Linked DNA regions of Homo sapiens: region 1 is linked to region 2. Evidence: promoter capture Hi-C in human tissues and cell types (Jung and others, 2019). All regions are on one chromosome and are shown on one strand. Each heading gives the region's core, a stretch centred on a gene start or on the middle of the fragment in contact. The rest is flanking DNA. Distances are from core to core; before and after follow the strand shown. Region 1 overlaps MSC-AS1 (MSC antisense RNA 1). Region 2 holds the start of TRAM1 (translocation associated membrane protein 1).

Region 1 (5,691 bases), core at 1,338-3,837, 1.4 Mb before region 2:
TGCAGATGCAGATCATTAATTCTGAAGGAACCAAAACTGTCTAAGGCCAGGGGAAGTGGCTCATGTCTATGATCCCAACACTTTGGGAGACCACGGTGGGAGGATTGCTTGAGTCCTGGGGTTCGAGACCAGTCTGGGCAATACAGTGAGACCCCATATCTACAAAAATTTTAAAAATAGCCTGTCATGGTGGCAGGCACCTGTAGTCCCAGCTACTCAACAGGCTGAAATAGGAGGATCACTTGAACTCAGCGGGGTCAAGGCTTCAGTGAGCCGTTATTGCACCACTGCACTCCAGCCTGGACAACAGAGCAAGTCCCTGTCTCAAAAATAAAAAAGAAAAAGAAAAAAAACTGTCTAAAGAATTCATAATCGAAATAATCCAGAAGTTGAGGTTCAAGACTGCAGGTATCTGTACTTTCAGGATACCACAGGCAGACACAACATCTTTCATAATCCGATAAACCTCCAAGCATCAAGTTTTCTGTGATGTTGTATGGTGTCCACAGTCCTTGAGATACAGGTTAGGTAGTGCAAATAACTAAAACCAGTAAGCCAGACTGCAGTCTTCAGCAAGGGACTTAAAGTCTCTTCTACTGCAGCAGTCTCTTCTACCCCAGCAGTTGATCAGCAAGCATCTTCATGACCCAGATGGTTGCCTTTCAAATTCTGAGTGTGGTAAAAGAAACCAGAAAACTCTTGGAGAGCTGTAATACTGAATTGTAAACATGTGTGCATTTATCACCATCCTGTATCACTTTGAAAACTTTCCCAATTATAAATATGCTAAAATCACCCAAATTTAAATAAGATGGAGGATTTATTAAATCAAATAGTCTTTTTACTTGTCGCAGGGCAAATGCTGAAAGTGGGACTCACCCCAGGAGGCCACGTGGGTTTTTGGCTTTCTGCAGGAAAAAATTCAAGAGCAAGCCAATAGAGTAAAGTGAAAGCAAGTTTATTAAAAAGTAAAGGAATAAAAGAGTGGTTACTCTATAGGCAGTGCAGCCCTAAGGGCTGCTGATTGGCTATTTTTATGGTTATTTCTTGATCATATGATAAATAAGGGGTGGATTATTCATGAGTTTCCTGAGAAAGGAGCAGGGGATTCCCAGAACTGAGGGCTCCTCCCACTGAAAGACCATATAGGTTAACTTCCAGATGTTACCATGGCATTTGTAAACTGTTGTGACACCAGTGGGCTCTTCCTTTAGTATGCTAATGTATTATAATTAGCATATAATGAGCAGTGAGGATGACCAGAAGTCACTTTTGTTGCCATCTTGGTTTTGGCAGATTTTGGCTGGCTTCTTTATTGCATCCTGTTTTACCAGCAAGGTCTTTGTGATTCGTATCTTGTGAAACAAGTCCTGCTGAACTCCTGTCTCATTCCCAAGTATAAAACCAAGTTGTGCCCCTAAAACCTCTATAGCATCCCAGTCTAGTGGTCAGCTCTGCCATTCCTTCTCAGTTGATAAGATAATGAAATGGCCCTTCACTCATCCAAATTACTGTAAACTTAACACCCAGTGTGCAGGATCTGACTGTACCTTTTAACATCCTTTGTTTCTATGCTGCCACATGAGTCCTTGAAATGCAGAAGACACAAGCCCATAAAGGACACTGTCAGTAAATAACCAGCCAGAGGATCAGAGATTTTGAAAGTTTCCATCAATTAGTCAATGACAACGCACAGAGCTTTGTCAAACCTTTGAAATATGGAACATGTTAATTTCACAATATGAAGTAAATTGCTTATGGGACATGCTTTTTTTTGCATGCTTTTAAAGTGGTTTCTATATTTTTTAACTGTAAAGAAAAGTCAACAAGAGATAAAGCTAAGTTCTACTAAAACATTTTGAGCTATGTTTTATATTGCCATTTTAAGTCTTAGCACTTAGAATGAGAATCATCAAAATGTGGTGACTCTTTGTTAACAAAGATAATACCACGAGGGCTTCACTGATGTTCTTTGGGAGTGGAGATTCATCAAGTGGAGTATCTCGAAAAAGCTGGATTGCTGCTTTGAGTTTTCCCCAAGAAAATTCAATTATCATATGCCAGTTTGAAAACAGAATAAAGCCCCAAAGTGCCAAGTGGCTTAAAGTAGTCATTGCATTCTATTTTTTGTTAAGTTTTTCTTTAATTGGAAAAGTATTAGGGTCAATAGAGCCAAAAGGTGGGGTCGGCCTTTCAAGTTTGGCACAGTTTTGCTGCTTGGGTACAGTGTTTTTTAAAATTCAGGTTCTTAACTTCTTGGAAAAGATGAATGGGAAAGAAATCAGAATGGGGGTATTTTGATTAAATTATTTAGAATGGCAATTACAAAAATAAGTACGTGTTTTAAATGTTTTCATTTATTGTTATGATTTGCATTTAAATAATTATTTTTGGAAATAATTTTCAAGAAAAAATATATGTATATATACATAAAGTATCAGAAAATAGTAATTAGCTGCAAAATTTAAGCTTACAGGGATGAGTAAATATATTTTTACAGTCTGAAAAGCAACTATTTACAAGTGAATAGTTTATAGCAACTATTTACAAGTGAGTGTACTGAGAGTTATTACTAAAGATAACTTGAAATGTAAAATCTGGCTTTAAAAGTATATTTTAAATGACAGTATAATGTTACACAAATCAGATGGGTAAATAGCAAACTAGGATTATACACTTGAGATATGCTAATATACAGAGTTTCATCTGTTATTAACATTTTTATTAAGACAAGAAGTATTAGATACCTTCTAAACAACGAATGTATCACTGATTTAAAAAAATAACCACTTAGTCACTGAGCAGCTATCATAACCTTCAAAGGAGAAGATTTAAGGCAACACAAACAAAAATATGCTAGCTTAACCTTGCATGTAAATCTTCTGAGAGTCTGCTCTAGACAGAGGTTTCAATTCTGCACCGCCTAATGCGTGTGACCCACAGAATTCCCAGCTGGATTTAGCTTGTCTGCACTGCACTTTTAAAACAAGCTAGAAAAAGGCAAACTCCCTGTTCTTCTGGTGCCATATGTGTATATTTTGGCTATTTCAGGGTATAGGGTAATGGAAAAAAAGCACCCTTTGTTTCATTTTTCATCATAATGAGGCTCCCCATTTGACATGTATGACAATTCTACCAGATAAGACAAGACCAATACAACACAGGGCAGAAACATGAAGAAAAGAATATTTTCTAAGGTCTTCTTGGGCACTACATAGTTGTTTTATGATATTTTAAAATTTATTTTTAACTGATCATGCCCAAAGCCAAACTTTGTTACAAGAGACATCTATAAATATTTACTAATCAACGAATGTTACAACAGACAAGGAACGCAATAGCATGAATGTATTACAACACAGGGTACATGGGCAGATGTTTATGGGAAAATGACTAACCCGTTCATAAATTATCACTGTTTACATTTCAAAGCCCAAGCCAGCTGCTTTGTAATGACAGATTATATCTTCAGTATTGATCACTGACAGCTATAAAAAGTCAGGCTGTTTGGCTTTCACAGGTACGAGTGGTGAACAGAAGATGAAATACCTTATCTCATTCATTTTTCTTAGCAAGGACTCAATTCTATTCAAATTAAAGATACTGCTTCATAACATACTTGTAACTAAAAAATATAGGGTGGATAATTTCTTTTTTTAATTGTTCAGAAATCAAGAATATAATTTAAACAAAATAAGTATGTATTAGTACATGGGAAAAAAGATAAAAAGAAACAAAACAGGCAATATAAGAAAAGCTTAAAAAATTAAGTAAAAGAAAACATCAAGACCTACAAAAATGCAAAAACATGAACAAGACTACACAAGTAAAATAAAATCTATGAGTTCTGACAACCAATCTAAACTTCAGTAAAAAACACAATACTTCCTTTCTGGGTTAAAAAAATGTAATCGCTAGAGAATAATCTAAACTAGTATTATAGAAAGATGAACAAATAAATATACAAATATAAAGAGCAGGAGTGACAAAATGAACTTAACCCAAAGAATGCAAGGGAAAAAATATAAAATTAGGCAAAATTATTGCTTTACACGGACAAAGATTTGACCTACAAGGAAGTCATGAGTTATTAACCTTTTTGCTTTCAATAAGTTACCAAAATATGTCGAGTTATAATTAGTAGAAGTGAATCATTGATGAATATATTGTTGGAGAGTCTTATAACACCTCCATTAGCCTAATCCCAGCTCCACACTTAGGAACTGTGTGACCCGCAAAGGTTATTAGAACACTGTTGCCAAGGAACTAGGAGAGAAGAGTCTGCTAGGACAAGGCACCAGCAGAGAACAGCCACTGCTGGAGAAACACAGGTACCCAAGCTAAGTTTCCAGGTCAAAGCAGGGACCAGATGAAGTCAGGAAGATCAGTCTGTAAAAGATACGAGCATTTCTGAAGCCTTTAAATAGCTGAATACATTGTATAGCGTTACTTCCTCACCTGACCCAGGTTAACCTCTTTTTATGTCAGTCCCCATTTTTCCCTTCCAATTTCTAACATTCATATTCCATTTTGAATAATTAAAAAGTTTTTTAAAAAATTAGTAACTCATGGAACTTGAGTTTGTGGATAGAGAAGGAAAACAATAACTAAGTCTGAACCAATAGTGGGCCTTGCCCTCTTCTCCTTGAACCTAGGTTTTAATGACAAAAATGAAGCTATTTTGGTCCACAAAGCAATCAAGGGTCCCTTTAGCCATCTCTGTGTCCCTTCACTAATTAATTCACCACCTAGACTTCAGCTGAAAAGACCTGCCCTACTCCAGCTATTTAGTTTAGCTCTATGTTCCTTCATTACTTGCTCATCATATGGGGGTTTGTCCCTTATTTCCTCACCCCTCTGAACAACATGCTTCTTTAACAGCTGGTCCTGAGGGTCAATAGGGTGTTTTAGTGTTCTCATTTGGTCTTTCAATAAGATGCCATTTCTTCTTGACTCTTGTATGTTCTAGTGCCTTGCTATTCAAGGTGTGGCCTGTGGGCCAGCAGCATGGGCACCCTCTGAGAGCCTGTTAGACATACAAGATCTCTGGCCAGTCATGGTGGTTCACGCCTGTAATCCCAGAGCTTTGGGAGGCCGAAGCAGGTGGATTGCCTTGAGTTGAGGAGTTCAAGATCAGACTGGGCAACAAAGCAAGACCCCGTCTCCACAAAAAAATTAAAAAATTAGCTAGGTGTGGTGGCATGCACCTGTAGTCCCAGCTACCTGGGAGGTTGAGGTGGGATGATCATCTGATCCACGGAGTTTGAGGATCCAGTGAGCTGTGATCATGCCACTGAACCTCAGCCTGGATGACAGAGTGAGACCTTGTTTCAAATAAAAGAAGAAAAAAGAAGATGAAATGTAGGATCTCAGGTCCCTGCCCTAGGCACTCTTCCCTCCTAAATCAGAATTTGCATTTTAGTAAGTTCCCTTGGCAATTCATATGCAAGTTAAGGTCTGAAAAGTACTACCTAATGAAGTTTCACACTAACACTGCTGGATGCTTCATTTAAAATCAATCAAGTGGCCGGCGCAGTGGCTCACGCCTGTAATCCCAGCACTTTGGGAGGCTGAGGCGGGCGGATCACAAGATCAGGAGATCGAGACCATCCTGGCTAACACGGTGAAACCTCATCTCTACTAAAAATACAAAAAATTAGCCGGGCGTGGTAGCAGGCAACTGTAGTCCCA
Region 2 (6,366 bases), core at 917-3,416:
AACTATTTCAAAAATGCAATTGAATCATAAAAGATAAATTGCTTAGGTCACAGAATTCAGTGAAGCTTTCGAAGAGGTCATGTGTAAATGAGACATGAAGGAACAGCAGGAGCCTGCTGTGTCTATGAAAGGACAGGAGAAAACATTCCAGACAGAGACAGCAGTACACGCAAAGGCAGGGGAGAGCATGGGAAGAGAGCATGTCATGGCATGTACAGTCGTCCCTCAGTCTTCACAGGGGACTGGTTCCAGGGCCCCCGCGGATACCGAAATCCACCCATGCTCAGGTGCCTTATATAAGATGATGCAATATTCTGGTAAAGAATATCCTAAATCCTCCCACAGACCTCCAATCATTTCTAGATTACTTATAATAACACAACATAACTGCTAAATAAATAGTTGGCTGTACTATATTATTTAGGGAATAATCATGGGGGGGTAGTCTGTAGATGTTCAGTACAAATGCAGTTTTTTTCTTGAATATCTTTTACTCCAGGTTGGTTGAATCCACAGTGTATGCGGCACCCACAGATATGGAGAGGCAACTGTATAGTGTGTGTAGTCAATAATGCTGGTACAGAGATTATGGCCTGTAGATGCAGGGCTCCAGTCTGTTGGGGTAGGCAAGGACCAAATCAGAAAGGGCTATTTCATCATGCTAGCTTTCCATGAAGGGAAAGGGAACCCGCTGAAAAACTTTCTGCCAGTAGAAGCATCATTCTAGTATAAACGTTGAAAGGTGATCTGAAGGGAAATGAAACTAGTGATTGCCCAGAAGGAGGAAAAGAATAATCCCTGACTAAATTTATAAAGCCCTTACTCCCCGCTAAGCAGTTTCCTTCAATCATCTCATTTAATCACTAAAATGAGCAATAGTTATCCCCACTTTATAGATGATATCCACAGGGCTTGCTCCCTCACCTCCTGCAGGTCTTCAGGCAAGTATAAGTGCCTCGCACTTTCCTATTCCCCTTGCTTTATTTTTCTCCTGGTTGCTCAACTCAATTTAACATCTGTTTCGCTTTTGAAATCTTGTTTAAAGATTCTCTCCCACACTAGAATGATAAGTCCCTAGGAATAATTTAATTTGTATTTCAGTTCTGTATCCCCAGTGCCCAGGACACAGTCAACCCTCAGTAAGTACATAAATGAATACATTTTTAAAAATGAGGAAATCGGGTCCCATAGAGATTAAGTAACTTGTCCTTGATCGTACAAGTAATAAGTGGCAGAATTCTGATTTAACAACCCACATTCTTAAACCACTAAGTGGTTACACCAGAGTTGTAATATTGTAGGCAAGAGGCAAGTACCCTCGGACTGCGGTAGTGGGGAAGCGGGGTGATAGGTCTGCCTCGAATTGGTGATGACTGGATGTGGAAGGGCGCTGAAAGGGCTCAATCTAGCATGACTTTGGTTTCTACATTTGGCTTATGGGTAAACAGGAGAGCAATTCTTCAGGAAAAAGAATACAAAGGACTCCAGGTTTGGGCAAAACGATAAGAGGAGGACGTGTCTTAATCCACGATCCTTTTTAACTCTTTTACTATTTCCCTTAGATTACTAAAACATGTTGTTAATTTGAATATATGTGAAGCCAGTAAACCCAAACTGATCCCTTCGTCTTCAGTCTGAGGCCAGTGGGGGATAGGGGTGGGGATGGGGACGGGGATGGGGGTGGGGACGGAGAGGCAGACCAGAATAGGGTCAGCTCTTTTTTTTTTTTTAAGTTAGTCCAAACTTACCAAGAGTAGAAATAAGTCCCCAGCAGTGCTTAACTCTGAGGTAATTTTTAAGGCAGATGCTAAAACTGGAGAATACACCGTACCCTTGTGGAGTCAGGTAGTATTCGTAGTTTTAGATTATCCTGACGGTGTTAGTCACTTGTAGAAGTGACAATGTGCAACAGGCCACTGACACCCAATCCCTGGATGGCCAGGAGGGCAGGAGGGCACCCGGCCGCGGCCTCAGGCTGCTGAGCAGGCGCAGGAAGCTCGCGCCTCAAACGACTCCCAAACCCGGGCCCGGCGCGAAGCAGGGAAGCGCCGCTCACATTCCTGCACGCTCGCCCGGCCGCGGGCCAGCGGCCTCCGGTCCCCAGGTGGCGCTGTGGGCTCGCGGAGGCGGCCGCGGCACCAGGGAGCGTCGTCTCCCTGGTGCGCATGCTCGCCCCCGCTGCGGGCTAGCTGTTGTGTTTTTTTTTTTCCCCCGGGCGGCCCGGCGGCTGCGTACTGGCTGTGGGATGGGAAGTGAAGCCCCAGCGAGCGGCTGCAGCGGGGCCGTGAGGAGCAGCCAGCGGGAGGCGGCGGCGAGTCGGTGAGCAGCTGGGAAGAGCAGAACCGGGGCGGAGCACCTGCAGGCGCGGGCGGCGGCCCCACCATGGCGATTCGCAAGAAAAGCACCAAGAGCCCCCCAGTGCTGAGCCACGAATTCGTCCTGCAGAATCACGCGGACATCGTCTCCTGTGTGGCGATGGTCTTCCTGCTGGGGCTCATGTTTGAGGTGAGCCCGCCCCGAGTCCCAACCGCCTGCCCCGCCACCTCCAGCCCGGGCCCGGGCTCCAGATGCCAGCCCCGGCTTCTCCGCCCAGGACGCGGGGGGCTCGGGCCCGGGGTGGGTGCAGACCCCCAGTCCCTGAGGTGCAGGCCTTCCCTGCCCTGCCCCACGTCGGCGGCAGCTCCCCGGCGGCCGGCCCGGAGATGCAAAGTCCCGGTGGGCCTCATCGCGGCCCGCAGGGGGTGGGGACCGCCGCGTCGCCCCCTTCCTGACCCGCCGCCGCCCCCTCCCGCAGGCTGCGCGGCGCAGTTCCTGGTTCCCGCGAAGGGTTACGTGGCAGCCGGCGAGGGGCCTGCGGGCGGGGGCGGCCCCTGCGCTGCCGAGCTGGCTCGGGGCGGGTGGGCGGACTTGGGGGGACTGCCAGCCTCGGCCGCGGTGAGCGTCAGCCCCGCGAGGGCCGGGGAAGGCCGAGGCCCGGCCCCCGGGTCTGAGGAGTGCCGGCCTGGAGACCACAGGCCCCGAGTGACAGGGGAGCCCCCGGTAGCTCCGAGATTGGGGTGAGCGAGAAACCGGAGTCAGGCATCTGCTTTCGACTTGAAGGGCGGTGGCCGCCGGGCACCGGCGCAGTGGAGGCGCGCCAGATTGTTTTCATTTTTGTCTTTTAAACTGATATTATTACCAGTTAACGAACTTTTTGCCCTGACGCTTTAAAGAAACAAGGTCTGATGGATAAATCGAGGTTCTGAACAGCGGTGCCAAGGAATCGAGTAATTTTGTTTCTTGAAGTAGGAGAGGATGGGAATGTCAGGAGTGTGTAAATTCTCTTCCCACGTATCTAGTATTTTGATGACTTATTTAACAGCTGTTGAATGTGGATGATAAACTTTGCAAGGTGAACGAGTAACATCCTACGTTTTTCCCCTCGCTCCCCAATACACACGCTCATTCCTTTGCTTTTTTCCCTTTTTAATTTTTCTCTGGAGCCTTTATGTCTCAGTAAATATACAAATTATTTTGCTCCTGCCTTGTTTTGTCTCCTCTCTCCTGCATGTAACAAGTGAGAGTAGAGATTTTGGAGTATTTTTACGAGTCTGTATTTCCAGAGTCTAGGATAGTGCCTGGGACATAGGAGTGCTTAAAAAAAGATGAGCGACGTTAAGAATCCTTGAGAAAACCTAATGGAATGATATTACCAGTGACCAAAAGGTGAATACATTTTCTTTTTAATGGAGCATATTTGTTTTTTTTTTTAATTTTAAAATTAAATAATATTTTAACCTTATTTTCGCCTCTCATCAAATGGGCTTTTCTGGATCTAGATACAGATATTATTTACTCCTGATTGTGTCATGCATGTTTGAAACCACTGCTAAGGAGGTAGCAGGTATAGTTAAAGGGTAGGTAGAAGGAAACTAACATTCTCAAGCTTTAAGTCTGGGCTGTGCCACCTACCTACTGGGTGACCCAAGTCTGAGCCTCAATTTTTCTGCTCTTTATCAGGAAATAATATCACCTGTACTGTTCTCCTCACAGCCATTTTTTGCAAGTATCAGATGATATGGTGTGAAGGTAAATACAGTGCTAGGCCTGGTGCTCTGGCTTATGCCTGTAAACATCCCAACACTTTGGGAGGCCAAGGCAGGAGAATCACTGGAGCCCAGGAGTTCGAGACCAGCCTAGGCAACATAGGGAGACCCTGTCTCTACAAATGATTTTTTAAAAATTAGCCAGGAGTGATAGATAGCACGCACCTGTGGTCTCAGCTGGGCGGCTGAGGTGGGATAATTACTTGAGCCCAGGAGGTGGAGGCTGCGGTGAGCCAAGGTTTCACCACTGCACTCCAGCCTGAAGGACAGAGCAAGAAGACCCTGTCTCAAAAAAAACCCAATGTTAAACATTTGTATTCACTTTCTGAATTTGATACTTGCATGTACTTTCTGCTTTGACCTTAAAGTAGTACTTTAATATATGTAGTATATTCAATTTTCTGTAACTTGTCATAAACCATCTCCACATGGTAAGAATTCCTGACTTTAAAAACATATTTTAGGGGTACTGTGACCTGCAAGGTATATTTGCAGTGCTTTGAATGAAATGAAATATAAATCAGAAATTCTGACACATAGTATAACTTTGATTTTATATAAACTATTTTACATTCTCTTACTATATTTCTAGGGAAGTCCACCACCTATACCTTGCCTCACATGTTAGTGATTTTTTTAAACAGTGGATTTTCACCTTTATATAAATTTATAAAATTTGAAAATCTAAATAGACAAAAATACTAAATAGAGGTTTTTAAGTCAATTCAAAAGTGAGTGTTAAAGTGATACACAAAAGTGAAGTTTGTGCGAGTTCTTCCTTTTTCTTACCATATATTAAGGTGTTAGGATTTCAAAGCATGTTATCTATATATAGGACTTTGTAGACTAGGTTAGTTTTGCTATTCGACTTTTAAAACAATTGCTGCTGAATCTCAAAGTTAACATAATTATAGAATTACAGTACTTGTGCTAGAATAATAGAGAAATTGATTTTTTTTTGCAGAACTGTTAAGCCTGTTGTGCAGATACATTGAGGAAATGTCAGAGGATTTATGGTGACATTGACAAAGAAATTCAGAAAGAAAGAAATACTGTATTACTAGCCAAAATGAAGAAGCAATGGAGATACACTGTAAAAGCATGGATTCTGGAGCTGAAGGGATTCATGTTCAAGTTAGGGCTCTGCAGCTTGCTAACTGGGTGACCTAGGGCAGCTCAGAACTGAAGTTTCCTCATCTGTAAAATGGGGCTTATTGGGTTACTCTGACAAATTAACCAATTTGTATTATGCCTAGTTCAATACTTGACTTCCAAAAGGTGTGCAATAAGTGGTAGCTATTATTATTCTTTAAAAACTCACCAAAATTGGGAAATAGAAAGCATTTTTATGTGAGAGAAGGGCCTGGAATCTCTTTAGTTAGCATCTAAAGAGATTATACATACTGAAAAGGCTAACAAAGTAGTCTGTTTGGCAGTAATGTAAGAGTTTAATTTCCAGGGAACTTCACATTAATCAAAAATTGCTTGTAAATTTTGGAATCATAGTTTTATTACAGTAAATATCTGTCCACATAATTCAAATCATAGTATACAATGAATGGCTTCATATTTGAGTTAGGAAAAATTGAATGGTCAAAAAATGTTAGGGATGCTTGGGAAGCTTTCTGAAAGTGAGTATGTGGAGGAGGGGTGAAGAATTAGGGGTTCACAAGAGAAGTATTTCTTTTAAGGAGTGTATAAAGGAAAGATATTCAAAAGGAAATATATTCAAAAGGAAAGATATTCAAAATCTGCAAGTTCTTTATGCCATACAGATTTTGGGGACGTTTACAATTTCAACAATCTTGAAACAGTTTTCAAGGTTTGGGTTTTTTTTTTCTTTCCTTTTTTTCTTTCTTTTTATGACAGGTAAGGTGCTCAGGTCAGAACAAAGTTTGAGGGAGAGACACATCTCACATATAAGCGTGAAACCCCAATCATCACACTTGTGAACTACAAAAGGGTCTCTCTTTTTTTTGAGACAGGGTCTTGCTATGTTGCCTTGGCTGGAACTTGACCTCCTGGGCTCAAGTGATCCTCCCCTCTCGCCACCTGAGTGGCTGGGACTACAGGCACGTGCCACTGAGCCCCACTGGAAGTGGAATTTGATATTCAGAATTGTCTTTACTTTTCAAGGATCCAGTCCATGTAGTGACTGGTCACATCTTCCTCTAAAACAAGTGCAAAGTAGTTAACATCTCTATATAACAAGAAAGATACCAAGCCCCAACCGGTGACATTTAATTAAAGAAATGTTGTATTTATGACATTGCATACAGCA

The links. Contacts are between HindIII fragments. The study calls those that stand out against the background at their distance.
Region 1: a fragment that was not itself captured here is called in contact with the fragment with the promoter of TRAM1 in region 2 in 1 of the 25 tissues and cell types used here (lymphoblastoid cells).

Annotation. Positions count from the first base shown.
Region 1 is chr8:72,011,865-72,017,555 of GRCh38, reverse strand. All of the region lies in intron 4 of MSC-AS1 (MSC antisense RNA 1), which reads right to left. Among named protein-coding and RNA genes, the nearest start is that of TRPA1, 61 kb to the left of the region's middle. The HindIII fragment of the contact is 5,950 bases long and covers 1-5,562 here.
Region 2 is chr8:70,604,216-70,610,581 of GRCh38, reverse strand. TRAM1 (translocation associated membrane protein 1) reads left to right here and starts at 2,166. Exons shown (of 11, transcript NM_014294.6): 1 at 2,166-2,505. The coding sequence starts at 2,383. It overlaps LACTB2-AS1 (LACTB2 antisense RNA 1), which reads right to left and starts at 2,005. Exons shown (of 4, transcript NR_038881.1): 1 at 1,749-2,005. It overlaps LOC124902090 (small nucleolar RNA U13), which reads right to left and starts at 6,050; the gene lies at 5,945-6,050. RefSeq lists silencers at 2,000-2,169, 2,250-2,299, 2,360-2,419, 2,470-2,649, 2,670-3,119. The HindIII fragment of the contact is 5,998 bases long and covers 1-4,816 here.